3 separate regions of the Homo sapiens genome follow, and all the other regions are linked to region 1. Evidence: promoter capture Hi-C in 16 types of primary human blood cells and fetal thymus (Javierre and others, 2016). All regions are on one chromosome and are shown on one strand. The core of a region is centred on a gene start or on the middle of the fragment in contact, and the rest is flanking DNA. Distances in the headings are between cores, read along the strand shown.

Region 1 (4,050 bases), core at 335-2,834:
TGGTATTATCTTTTAAGTTGTCAGCAAGTTACCAAGGTATTCATTAAAGAACTTGTAATATCAAATTACTATTTATTCATAACAATTGATTTGATGCTAATAATAATTTTCTTTAAACTCTACCATTCATTATGTGGTAACTGTATTGAACTTACTTTATTTGGATTTTATTTTAATGTGACTAGATGTCACCACTTCAAAAAATCAATTTGTTCTTAGAACCTGGTTGAAAATACCAGGAAACTGTTACAGACGCCATTTTTTTTTTTTTTGAGACGGAGTCTTGCTCTGTTGCCCAGGCTGGAGTGCAGTGGCACAATCTCAGCTCACTGCAAGCTCCGCCTCCTGGGTTCACGCCATTCTCCCACCTCAGCTTCCCAAGCAGCTGGGACTACAGGTACCTGCCACCACGCCTGGCTAATTTTGTTTTTGTATTTTTAGTAGAGACGGGGTTTCACCGTGTTAGCCAGGAAGGTCTCAATCTCCTGACCTCGTGAATCGCCCCCCTCGGTCTCCCAAAGTGCTGGGATTACAGGCGTGAGCCACCATGCCCGGCCCAAATATTTTTTATTCAGGATGGTATAACCTAACTGATAATAGGTAATAAGGTTAAATTTTTTTATGACGTATTTTATTTACAAATATCATACACTGCTGGTGTTACCATATGAAAGGAAATAAAGTCAATTGATAATTGCCTCATTTTTATTGCCCTTATTTCATTTTCCGTTGTTCATAGTAACAGGCTTTGTTTCTGACATAGAAAATAACACAATCTCTTTATAAACTGCCATAAATTTGTTCGAATGGAGTTTATAATGTGTATCAACAGATAGGAATTTGAGGCCTTTGTTTGAGAAGCTTTTGTAGGAAAAGAAGCAACTGAGCTGGGGAATGAAGAATCATGGCAGAAGGTAAAAGAAACAAAAACAAACAAAAAAAGAAAATAGGAAAAGCAAATGGAAATGACTCACCTAGAGATTGGAAGAAGTTAGTTGTAGAAAGAGGTGTATGGATATTTAAAAAACTAACATAGGGCTGGGTGCAGTGGCTCATGCCTATAATCCCAGCACTTTGGGAGGCCGAGGCGGGAGGATTGCTTGAGCCTAGGAGATTGAGACCAGCCAGGACAACATGGTGAAACCCCACCTCTACAAAAAATACACAAAAATTAGCCAGGTGTGGTGGTATACACTTGTAGCCCCAGCTACTCAAGAGGCTGAGGTGAGATCACCTGAGCCCAGGGAGGTTGAAGCTGCAGTGAGCCATGATTGCGCCACTGCACTCCAGCCTGGGTAGCAGAGTGAGACCCTGTCTCAAAAAACAAAAACAAAAAGAACTAACGTGCTATTTTTACTTCAACTAAAACTTGGAAAGAGGAAACATGTTGGAAGAGATTACCAAAGATTAAAAGTAGAGTGAATATAACCTAGATAGAACAGATGTTTTGTGTGAAATTTAGTATCTTTAACTTAATAAACCAGCAGGAACTGTATGAACACAACACACCCAACTGACAAACAGAGAGAACTAACATGTTTATTTAGCTGTATGTATATATGCTTAACTACACCCGAGGAAGCTGTAGAGTTAGAAAAACATGAACCATTAACAGATGTGGCCTCCCTGCAGAACTTTTACTTTGAAAAAGAAGTACGTCTGAACCAGATTCACATGTTTGATATTTGGATGCAGAGAAAATGGGGCAGAAAGCATCGCAACAGTTGGCTCTGAAGGACAGCAAAGAGGTGCCCGTCGTCTGTGAGGTGGTCAGTGAAGCTATAGTCCATGCAGCTCAGAAACTGAAGGAGTACCTTGGATTTGAATATCCTCCAAGTAAACTCTGCCCAGCTGCAAATACTCTGAATGAGATCTTCTTAATCCATTTCATCACTTTCTGCCAAGAAAAGGGAGTTGATGAGTGGCTGACCACCACCAAGATGACCAAGCACCAAGCCTTCCTGTTTGGTGCAGACTGGATTTGGACCTTTTGGGGATCCAACAAGCAAATAAAGCTTCAGCTCGCAGTACAGACTCTGCAGATGTCTTCACCTCCTCCTGTGGAATCTAAGCCTTGTGACCTTTCCAATCCAGAATCAAGGGTAGAGGAGTCTTCCTGGAAGAAAAGTAGATTTGATAAGCTGGAAGAATTCTGTAACTTAATAGGAGAGGATTGCCTGGGTCTGTTTATCATCTTTGGTATGCCAGGAAAGCCTAAAGACATCAGGGGAGTTGTCCTGGACAGTGTCAAAAGTCAGATGGTGAGGAGCCATCTGCCAGGAGGGAAGGCTGTGGCTCAGTTTGTCCTGGAAACTGAAGATTGTGTGTTCATCAAAGAGCTGCTCAGAAATTGTCTGAGTAAGAAAGACGGGCTGAGAGAGGTGGGCAAGGTTTATATCAGCATTCTCTGACTTGGATATGTATTATGTGAGTGGCCTGTAAGAGGAAAAGAAAAAAAGATTCTAATAAGCAAGCTCACCTATTTGCATCATTCCAGCATGGGATTTTTTTTCATTTGTTTTCCCATTGATTGAAAATGATTACTGGGATCAAAGTACATTCATGTCGCAATTACAGAGAGAGAGAGAAAAAAAGAAAACCCTGGCTCTGCCTATGATTTAAAAACAGTTCAGGAAAAGTTATAATTTAGTTTAATATTTCATTCACTTATTCAATAATAAAAATGGAAGAGAGATAATAAAGTCACATTTAAAGTTTGATTTGCAAAAAAAAAGTGTCTGTTTGAAATAATAAGTCTAGCACTCAAAAGTATAAAATGTGTTTTTGCATCTGTTGGTGGGAGATGGGTAGGATAAAGTAGTGGGTAAGGCTACAGAGCAGGTTTAATTACATTTGTAATGCCAGTTTCAAGCCAGGCACAGTGGCTTATGCCTATGGTCTCAGCTACTCAGTAGGCTGAGGTGGGAGGATCGCTTGAGCCCAGGAGTTTAAGGCTACAGTGAGCTGTGATTGCACCACTGTGCTCTAGCCTGGGCAACAGAGTGAATCCTCATCTTTAAAAAAAAAAAAATAGTTTGGGTTCAGGACTCCTGCACAAAACTCACAGCGTTCTTTTCCTCTAACACTTACCTTATTCTGTCTTCTCCCTAGCTGCTGTCTCTGCACTGAGAGGACTTTGATGGGATTTACTTTGAGATTCACTTTAGTGTTAGCTCTGCCTATGATTTAAAAACAGTGACCTATAAAACTATTCCTTTTAATAATACTTGTTTAGCCTTTGCAGTAAGGAAGGTGTATTCACATATAATAACCATTTTTACTTAAAAGCCAGTGTGGAATTATAACAGTACAAAAAGGAATCACCATTATTTATTGCACTTGTAAGTCAAGTCAGATGCTTTACATATATTAGCGTGATTTGCATGTGTCTTCCATGACTCTAAGAGGTTTCTATTTGCCAAATCAAAGAGGCTAGATAACTCATAAATCTATTAAGTGGCTTGTAACAAAAAAGTAAAGTCTGCCCAGTTACAAAGCCCATATTCTACAGTCGTGTAAAGAAAATTCCCTGTAAGCCTATAAATTAGGTTAAGTAAAAATCAATTAAAAAAAAAAGAAGAAGAAAAGAAAATTCTTTGGCCAGGAAGAGTAGCTGTGATCCCAACACTTTGGGAGTCTGAGGCAGGAGGATTGCTTGAGCCCAGGAATTCAAGACCAGCCTGGACAACATGGTGAAACCCCATCTCTACAAAAAATACAAAAAGTCATGGTGATGTGTGCCTGTAGTCCCAGCTACTTGGGAGGCTGAGGTAGGGGGACTGCTTGGGTCCGGGAGGTCAAGGTTGCAGTGAGTCGTGATCGTGCCACTGCCCTCCAGCCTAGGCAACAGAGCAAGACCCCATCTCAATAAATACATAAAAAGAAAATTCTCTGATTTTAAACTACTGGAATTGCTGAGACAACAAAGGTGTTCACCTGCAAAAATGCTAGCTGGTTACTGTTGCTCATTTTTCCTCCATTTCCTGGCCTTAATCTGTGGCTACTTTTCCTGTTGTTGAACCACCTGTTCACTGATACGCAGCCATTAGA
Region 2 (4,132 bases), core at 186-2,685, 300 kb before region 1:
GTGTTTTAGACTGCTCATTATTAATGATGAAAGCCTGTGGTTAGTAAAGGTGTTTTTCTTCCCTTTTACCATGACATGTCAGTTACATTTAAACTTAGAGGAAGACTAGAGAGCAGCCCTTTTTATTTTAATTGGAAGTTGAATTTAAGATTTATGGAAAGGCCATTTCTCAGGATTTCTCAAGATGAGTTACCCAAGTTTATTTCTGATTTTGCATTATGTTTGAGATTTTACATAATAAAAGATTTTTTAAAAATAACATTGACATTTTAAAAAATTATTTATATCCTGAATCAAACCTTCATGGGTCACGGATTCAGACTTTGAAAAAGCTTCTAAGGTAGAGAGACAATTACTCAGGTATCTGAAGTTGTGAAATCGCAGGCTGATGAAGGATGGGTGACTGCTACCAAATGTCTTAAGTGTTTCTTAAATTTATCTTCATAAGATAATTGTGCATGAGGAAGAAGTGCAACAGTACACCCAGAATCCACTTGTTTCTTGTGCATGTGTGGCAGATGCTATCTGTCAGTGCCCCATGGCATATCCCCCCAGCACCCACTACTGCGGACAGGGCATGCCACTGGCCTCCAGTGTCCAAAGCCGGGACTCTCCGCCTGATCTCCTCTGGTCTCTGGAGCCAGTTCTGCCTGTGGCTCCAGGAACTTGCAGGTTTCAGGTACTTTATTAGCTTCCTTCTCTTCCGTGTCTCATTTCCCAGTTCCCTGCCAGTGTTTCCTGGGACCACCCCTCAAATAAACTTCTTATATTTGAATCCTTGTTTTGGATCTGCTTCCTCAAGATTTCAAGTGAAGACAGCAAGACACCAAGTTGAGAGACCTAGCCTGCAACATGTTGAGGAAAAATTTCATAAAGGATTTTGAAAGGATGTCCTGTAAATTAAGGCAGTGTTTAGGGTAATACAGGCTTTTTCTCCCTCTCCTCACCCCCACACACATTTGGGAACTCATGGAGTAGATGACACTTGAATCTAGCCTGTGGAGCCGATGTAAGTAAATAGTTTGGCAAGGATCAGTCCTCATGACTCCAATATTTAGATAAAAAGCTAAAGAATTATTGAGATAAGAATTTTTAACCCACTTCCCATTTGCCCTGAGAATACTGCACTGGTAGCGAGCTGTATTTTTTTCTTTTCTAAATAGGAAATGGATTAAATGGGATTTTTAAAAAAAAAACTTAGATAGCTGATCAAATGAATTGCAGTTGATAGAATTACACAATCCCAGCTAGAAATTTGCCAACTGAATAAATGTTCACAGTGAGAAGTGAGGGACAGTTCGATTTGGAAATATAGATAGTAACCTGTTGTAAGAGAGAAGTAAATGCAACAGGCTAGGTTCTATGTGATGAGATTACATATATAAATTAAAAATACAGACTTTCTTAAGTCTATATTTTCAGTAGAGTGGAATATTTTTAGTCAGTATCATTCATAAGTTTGCAAAAATGCTGAACCTGATGTATAAGCCCTTTTATTTTTAACTGCCATCTAGCTTTGTTAAATGAAAACTTTTATTCGTACTTACTCAATTTTAATTCCTTTGAGGCATCTGGGTTGTTAGGGGGAGGTAGAGCCTAGGATGACCCCCAGATTTCTCTTTGAACTGCCTGGGTTGATCGTGGCACCAGTAAACAGGGTAGGGAATAAGTGATAAAGACTGGGTTTGGGTTGGAAGAGGTAAGGAGTTTTGTAATTTAGGGCATCTGTGGCCTGGGAAGGGAGTGGTGTTTGTGAAATGTTGGATACAAGGTTTTATGCATGGCTTACAACCTGCCCTCTGTTCCCTGCTTTATTTTCCAGCCTTTCCCACTGCAGCATATGCTTCAGCCGCATCTGACCGCTCTCTCTCAGTTCTCACTGGTCATTCCCTCTGGCTGGAACACCTTTGTGCCCCTCCCCTTCTGTCACCCAGGCAACTCCTATTTGAACATCTTTGGTGACAGAGCACTCACTATCAGCAAATGGTGTGGCATTAGTGATTTAGAAAGTGGGCTCTGGAGCCAGCCTGAGTTTTAACCCCAGCTCCATCCTGTACCTGGTGTGACCTTGCCATTAACTCAGTTTCCTAGGACAATGGAGATACTAGAACATCCCATAGAGCTGTTAAGATTAAATGAGTTATACGTTTAAAGCACTTTAAACAGACTGTGACACATAAAGTATTCTCTAAATCTTTGCTATTATTGTTAACTACTATCTTATATGACAGTTCATATCATGTTCTATTTAAACAAAAATTTAAAGGATTTATTGTAATGGAACTTTTACCAAATAGTGCCAATTTGAAACAATGATTGTTCTAATCTTTTCTAAATCTTATCATAAAAACAGCTGTTTCAAATAATTTTTATCAGGCTTTCCCCCTACTTTTTAACCTTTAAATCACTTTTGTGGCATGCCATAATCTGTAGCCTACTCATTGTTTATGCCCGTATTGGATTTATTTTTTGCTTAAGCATGATATTTGAGGATATAGATTATTTCCAATTTTTTATTATTTTGGTGGACATGCTTGACAAGCTTCTTCCTATGAGTTAATTGCTTGGGATTTTCCTAAAAAGTGAAATTTATTTTATTTTTGTACTTTTCACTATAAATTTCTCCAAGTGTTCTTTAAAATGTTTCTATAATCTATTATAACCTTATGTATCTGTTAACCATTATAAGCACTAACATAAGAAATTTAAGAATGTATGCATAATTATTTAAATGTCTTTTTAAAGTTTTGAATATAAGTTACGATATACCAAAAAACTTAATAAGGTGAAAACAATATTGCAAGGGGGCATGAGGATTAATTTTTTCTAATAGATGTAAATTACTATAATTTTAAAAATTGACTTGGAAATATGTTAAGTCATAGACCTAGTTAATCCTAAAATAGAGCAACCTGTTCGTTTTTTCATGTAGTACATACAATTTAGTTCCTGAGAAAAATAATCTATTAATAATAAAGTCATGAAATAAACAAAATTGGTGATATCTTTTCAATGGAATACCATTCCCCTTTCATATTTTAGCATATTTAAAGAGCATTTTATAGCACAATTATAACTATTATAGATGTCAATATAAGAAATTTAATGACTTATTTATAATGATCCAAATGTCCTTTTTAAAAATCTTTGAATTAGAGCACAGAAAATTCTATACTATCCATTGCACTGGTTACTTGAGAAGCTGGCCTCCAAATATTGTTGGAATGGAAGAAGAAAGGAACAGTAAGAAAGACAACAGTAATTTTACCTGCCTTGTGGCCATTGGAAGATTACAGCCATATATTGTTCCACAGAACAGTGGAGAGATTAATGTGAAACCAACTGAATTTATAACCCGGTTTGCAGTGAATGGAAAATTTGTCTATGTAGATCAAAGGTAAACATTTACATGTTATAATGATTAGAATTCAATGGGATATTTGAAGCTATTAAAGGCGTGTCTTAGTAGCACTGCTAGTTTTTCTTTTTCTTTTTTCTGTTTCAGAACAGAAAATAAAGTTTAAATGAAATAAGAATATGGACATGTCAGTAAATTTGCTTAAGCCAACATGTAAACTTGGAAGAGTGTCTCTTAGCCAGTGGTGCAGAAACTGGGCATGATCTGTGGCCACGATTTTACTGGCAAAAGCTAGTAGGAGCACAGCCTGGATCGGGTGGAGGCTTCATGCCTGGGTGCCTGTTCTGTGTTGCAGCTCTAGTCTGGGTCTAGGGCAGCCGAGGGGAGCCCAGTGATATGCATGGGTCACTCATCCCCTACCCTGTGCACTTCTTTACGATCCTGACCATATGTGGGCCTACAGTCTTCTGGGAGGGAGTACACTCACCACTTCTGAAGTTTATTTTCAATTTTGAAACCAGGGCAACAGCGATTTTAGGATATCTGCCTCAGGAACTTTTGGGAACTTCTTGTTATGAATATTTTCATCAAGATGACCACAATAATTTGACTGACAAGCACAAAGCAGGTAGGTATGCATTGAGCAGAATACATTTTGGGGAATTTAAAATGACAGTTTTAACTCTTAATTTCCCATTCCTGTGAAATTTGAAGTTTGAATTAATCTTCACAACATTGATTTTTATAGTCATTGACTATTATGCTGATAATTAT
Region 3 (3,994 bases), core at 559-3,058, 320 kb before region 1:
TTGCCCCTAAACTATTCTAATAGAGAAATTCTGGAGTTGCTGTGTGTTGTAGGAGAGGGATTTACAGCAAAGTGTGACAGGTAAAATCATGTAATTCTTGAAATCTAAGATACACTTTTCTCCTCTACGTTTTATCTTCTGTGGAAATTTCTTATCATCAGTGGCATCTTCCTGTCAATTGGCAGCATTTCTTTCTCTTGTGATGCTTTAAATAATAGTGCGTCTTACAATTGGTGGCTCTTAGATTTGATGAAATAAGGGTAGTGGTATGAAAGGTACTGAGGTAGCTTAGAGAGAGCAGTGATTAATCATGTAGTAGTCAGAGAAAGCTTCCCAGAAGAATAACTGAGTTGGATTTTGAAGAAAGAATAGGATTTCTCCAACAGTATAGTCAGAAAGGACTTTGTAAGCCTGGTAAAGAGCAAGGCATGGAGGAGATGTGAGACGGTATGGCATGTGTGAGGATGAGCAAGTCTTCAGGCGTTGCTGCTGTGGAACATTTGGAGCTGTCGGGGAAAGTCTTGAAGAGAGAAACTGGAGATGAAGACATGAGGCAGATCAGGGAGAACCCTGGCCTATAATTAGGGAATCTGGCTAGTCCTCTTGGGCAGTGGAAATGCAGTGAATAGTTTTATGCAAGGGGATTAGGTGACTGGATTTGTTTTACTACATAATTTTGGAAGTCATAGAATAGACTAGGAGAGGAAGGAACAGCAGTTTAAAAGGTTTTGGGGTAATGCAATGAGCCTAAATTAAGATGATGACAGAGGGGATGGAGAGGAAGAGAAGACATATTTAAGAAATATTTTAAGATCTAGAATTGACAGGAGTTTGTGATTCTTTGGCTTTTTAGGGTGAAGAGGAAGGGTCTAAACCAGGGGTATCCAATCGTTTGGTTTCCCTGGGTCACGTTGGAAGAAGAAAAATTGTCTTGGGCCACACATAAAATACACTAACACTAATGATAGCTAGTGAGCTAAAAAAAAAAAATCTCATAATGTTTTTGGAAAGTTTATGAATTTGTGTTGGGCTGCATTCAAAGCCATCCTGGAGCACAGTTTGGACAAGCTTAGTCTAGATTGAGTCTAGTTGTGTTACCTACCAAGATAAACCCTATAGAAGGAAGATAAACCCTATAAATCAGGAGTAGTACAGGAAGAATTGAAAATGGGGGTACATCGCAGAGAATGCATGCAGTTTGGGGTTTCTTGAATTTTAGATTTCTTGAGAATCATTTAGGTTTATAATTCTAGTTCCAAAGGTCAGGAACTGAGTGAAGTATGAATGAGATAGGGTTATAATAACAAATAGCTTATGAGTAGCTGTAAAGCCTTGTGAGGGAATGAGATCTCAGGGTGAATAAAGAGTGAGGAGAGAGCGGTGCTAAGCAGGGAATCTTAGTGCACACCAGTATTTAAGGATCAAGTAAGAGCTGGGTGAGGAGACGAGGGGACTGAACCGAGCAGGGAGAGTGGAGGAGGACCAGGAGGCAGAGAGGCTGTGGAGACCAGGGGAGAATGAGAAGTGTCAGCAGTGTCAGATTCAAGGCAGGGATCAGCAAGAGATCGCAAGAGAGAAGGAGGATCTTCGCTGGGACAGTTTTAGTGGGGCAGGGGTTGTGGAAGGTTAATGTTACAGATGGACAGATGCCTGGGAAATGAAAGATTGAGTGGAAATTGCACTCTTTCAGGGAGTTTGCTGAGGGGGGAAGACGGTAGCAAGAACAAAAAACAACTAGAATTAGTGAAAGGGTTTTTTTTTTCAGGGGGAAGATACTTGAGCACATTTATAGACCCATGATAAGGAGCTATAAAAATAATGAGGTTAAGATGCTGACAACTATTTATGCAAATACCAGAGAATAGTTAGCTTTGAACAGAAGGGCACCCATCTCTTCTCTAATATTGGAAACAGGTGGAAAAACCACCTGGGCTCTCAGACAGATGTCTTTGTTTTTAAATATTTCAGAAAATGAGGTAGGGAGGGACTGACCAAGGGCAGCGAGTTTTATGAATGCTGTTCCTGGTCTCAGCAGCGCTTTCCTCTTCCCTCACTGACAACTGCAGGGCCCAAGTGGGGAGGAAGAACAGTGTGTGCCTGCTGGGCTCAGCATCTGCTCCAGTGAGCAACACGGGGGTGACTGGGGGTCTGCTGAATGTTAAATATAAAGGAAGTTCCTTTTCCCTCTTAGAGAAGCTCATAGCCAAACTGAAAAGCGGAGGAGAGATAAAATGAATAACCTGATTGAAGAACTGTCTGCAATGATCCCTCAGTGCAACCCCATGGCGCGTAAACTGGACAAACTTACAGTTTTAAGAATGGCTGTTCAACACTTGAGATCTTTAAAAGGTGAGTTTGACGATGGCTTCCACACTTCGATAAGTGAAATCTGCTCTGTCACTGAGGTCTCTGATTGGTTCGCTTTGCTGTCAGCTGTTGAGGTTCTATCCAGATGTGTCTTTCAGCTTTAGAGGTATTCACTGGCATTTGTCTATAGTCTGTATGTGGAGAGAATACTGAATTGGATGTCAGAAAACTTGGTTCTGATAAAAGCTTTTTCTCAAGCTCACTATACAACCTTGAAAGGTATTTACATTTCTTCTTCACATATATTATGAAGAGAATATCACCTGCCTTTCATACCTCTCAATTCTTTAGAAGTTCTGAAGTTGAGCTGGGCGTGGTGGCTCATGCTTGTAATCCCCGTACTTTGGGAGGCTGAGGTGGGCGGATGGCTTGAGTCCAGATTTCGAAACAAGCCTGGGCAAAAAAATGCAAAAATTAGCCAAGTGTGGTCTTGCGTGCTTGTAGTCCCAGCTACCTGGGAGGCTGAGGTGGGAGGATCGCTTGAGCCTGGGAGGTGGAGGTTGCAGTGAGCAGTAATCATGCCACTGCACTCCAGCCTGGGTGACAGCCTGTCTCAGAAAAAAAAAAAAGTTCTGAAGTATAGTATTAATTATTAAGTTATTGAGAGATTTCTATCCTTCAAAAAGAAAACTTCCTTAAACTCTGCAGTTTCTCTTAAAGCTTCATTCAGATTTACGAGTAGTACCTTATAATGCATCACATGTTGCCATTCAGAGTATCCTCAAATATGTGAGACACTGGGGGAAGGAGGTCCTTGCCACTGCCTCTTGGTGTGTGGGTGATCATTTCTGGCTTTAGCAATTCCCCAACTTGAGCTTGAATTTTAAATCAAAGTGTAATAAATGTATATGTGTACCTGTGTATTAGTCCATTCTTGCATTGCTATGAAGGAATACCTGAGACTGGGTAATTTATAATGAAAAGAAGTTTAATTGGCTCCCGGTTCCACAGGCTGTGCAGGAAGCATGGTGGCTTCTGCTTCTGGGGAGGCCTCAGGGAGCTTTCACTCATGGCAGAAGGCAAAGTGGGAGCCGGCATCTTACATGGCAGGAGCAGGACCAAGAGAGGGTAGGGGAGGTGCCACACACTTTCAACAACCAGATCTCATGAGAACTCACTATTGTGACACAGTATCAAGGGGAAAATCCACAAGCATGATCCAGTCACCTCCCACCAGGCCCCACCTCCAGCACTGGGGATTATTATTCGACATGAGATTTGGGCGGGGACACAGAGCCAAACCATGTCAACATGTGCGGTAGAAATCACCCCTGTTTTGGGAATAGCCCCAGTCCAACTTGGGTGAAGTGGAATAGAGTTTTCGATTTACCAATGCCGATGATGTAAATTTGCACTGAAAAGATAAGACCTGGCCAAGCAGCAAGCTGAAGACTCCAGAGGAGACTCTGCAAGTTCAGATTTGTAAAGATCTAGAAGATTATAGTGAAATTTGGCTCAAAAATCATAAAAAGGGAGTGAGCAAAGGATGACCAAGGGTCTTAGTTTAGATCTCAAACACTGCCAGGAAAAGGAAAATATATTTCAGGGTAATGGAAATTATCTGGGCACCATGCAAGGTATGGTCAAGTCAAGTTAAGGTGGCTAAGAGGAGAGCAGCACTCACCTA

The links. The method cuts DNA at HindIII sites, captures the fragments that hold promoters and counts their contacts. A CHiCAGO score of 5 or more calls a contact.
Region 2: a contact is called between a fragment that was not itself captured here and the fragment with the promoter of REP15 in region 1, in 1 of 17 cell types (endothelial precursors). The highest score is 5.8, in endothelial precursors.
Region 3: a contact is called between a fragment that was not itself captured here and the fragment with the promoter of REP15 in region 1, in 1 of 17 cell types (endothelial precursors). The highest score is 5.8, in endothelial precursors.

Annotation. Positions count from the first base shown.
Region 1 is chr12:27,694,863-27,698,912 of GRCh38, forward strand. It overlaps REP15 (RAB15 effector protein), which reads left to right and starts at 1,585. Exons shown (of 1, transcript NM_001029874.3): 1 at 1,585-2,734. The coding sequence starts at 1,701. The coding sequence ends at 2,411. It overlaps PPFIBP1 (PPFIB scaffold protein 1), which reads left to right. Exons shown (of 30, transcript NM_003622.4): 30 at 1-702. The region is part of intron 3 of MRPS35-DT (MRPS35 divergent transcript); the gene reads right to left. The HindIII fragment of the contact is 1,154 bases long and covers 860-2,013 here.
Region 2 is chr12:27,397,378-27,401,509 of GRCh38, forward strand. BMAL2 (basic helix-loop-helix ARNT like 2) reads left to right here. Exons shown (of 17, transcript NM_020183.6): 10 at 3,157-3,397; 11 at 3,880-3,986. All of the region lies in intron 1 of BMAL2-AS1 (BMAL2 antisense RNA 1), which reads right to left. Among named protein-coding and RNA genes, the nearest start is that of BMAL2-AS1, 47 kb to the right of the region's middle. The HindIII fragment of the contact is 2,210 bases long and covers 331-2,540 here.
Region 3 is chr12:27,378,056-27,382,049 of GRCh38, forward strand. BMAL2 (basic helix-loop-helix ARNT like 2) reads left to right here. Exons shown (of 17, transcript NM_020183.6): 5 at 2,192-2,349. Among named protein-coding and RNA genes, the nearest start is that of BMAL2, 47 kb to the left of the region's middle. The HindIII fragment of the contact is 1,485 bases long and covers 1,067-2,551 here.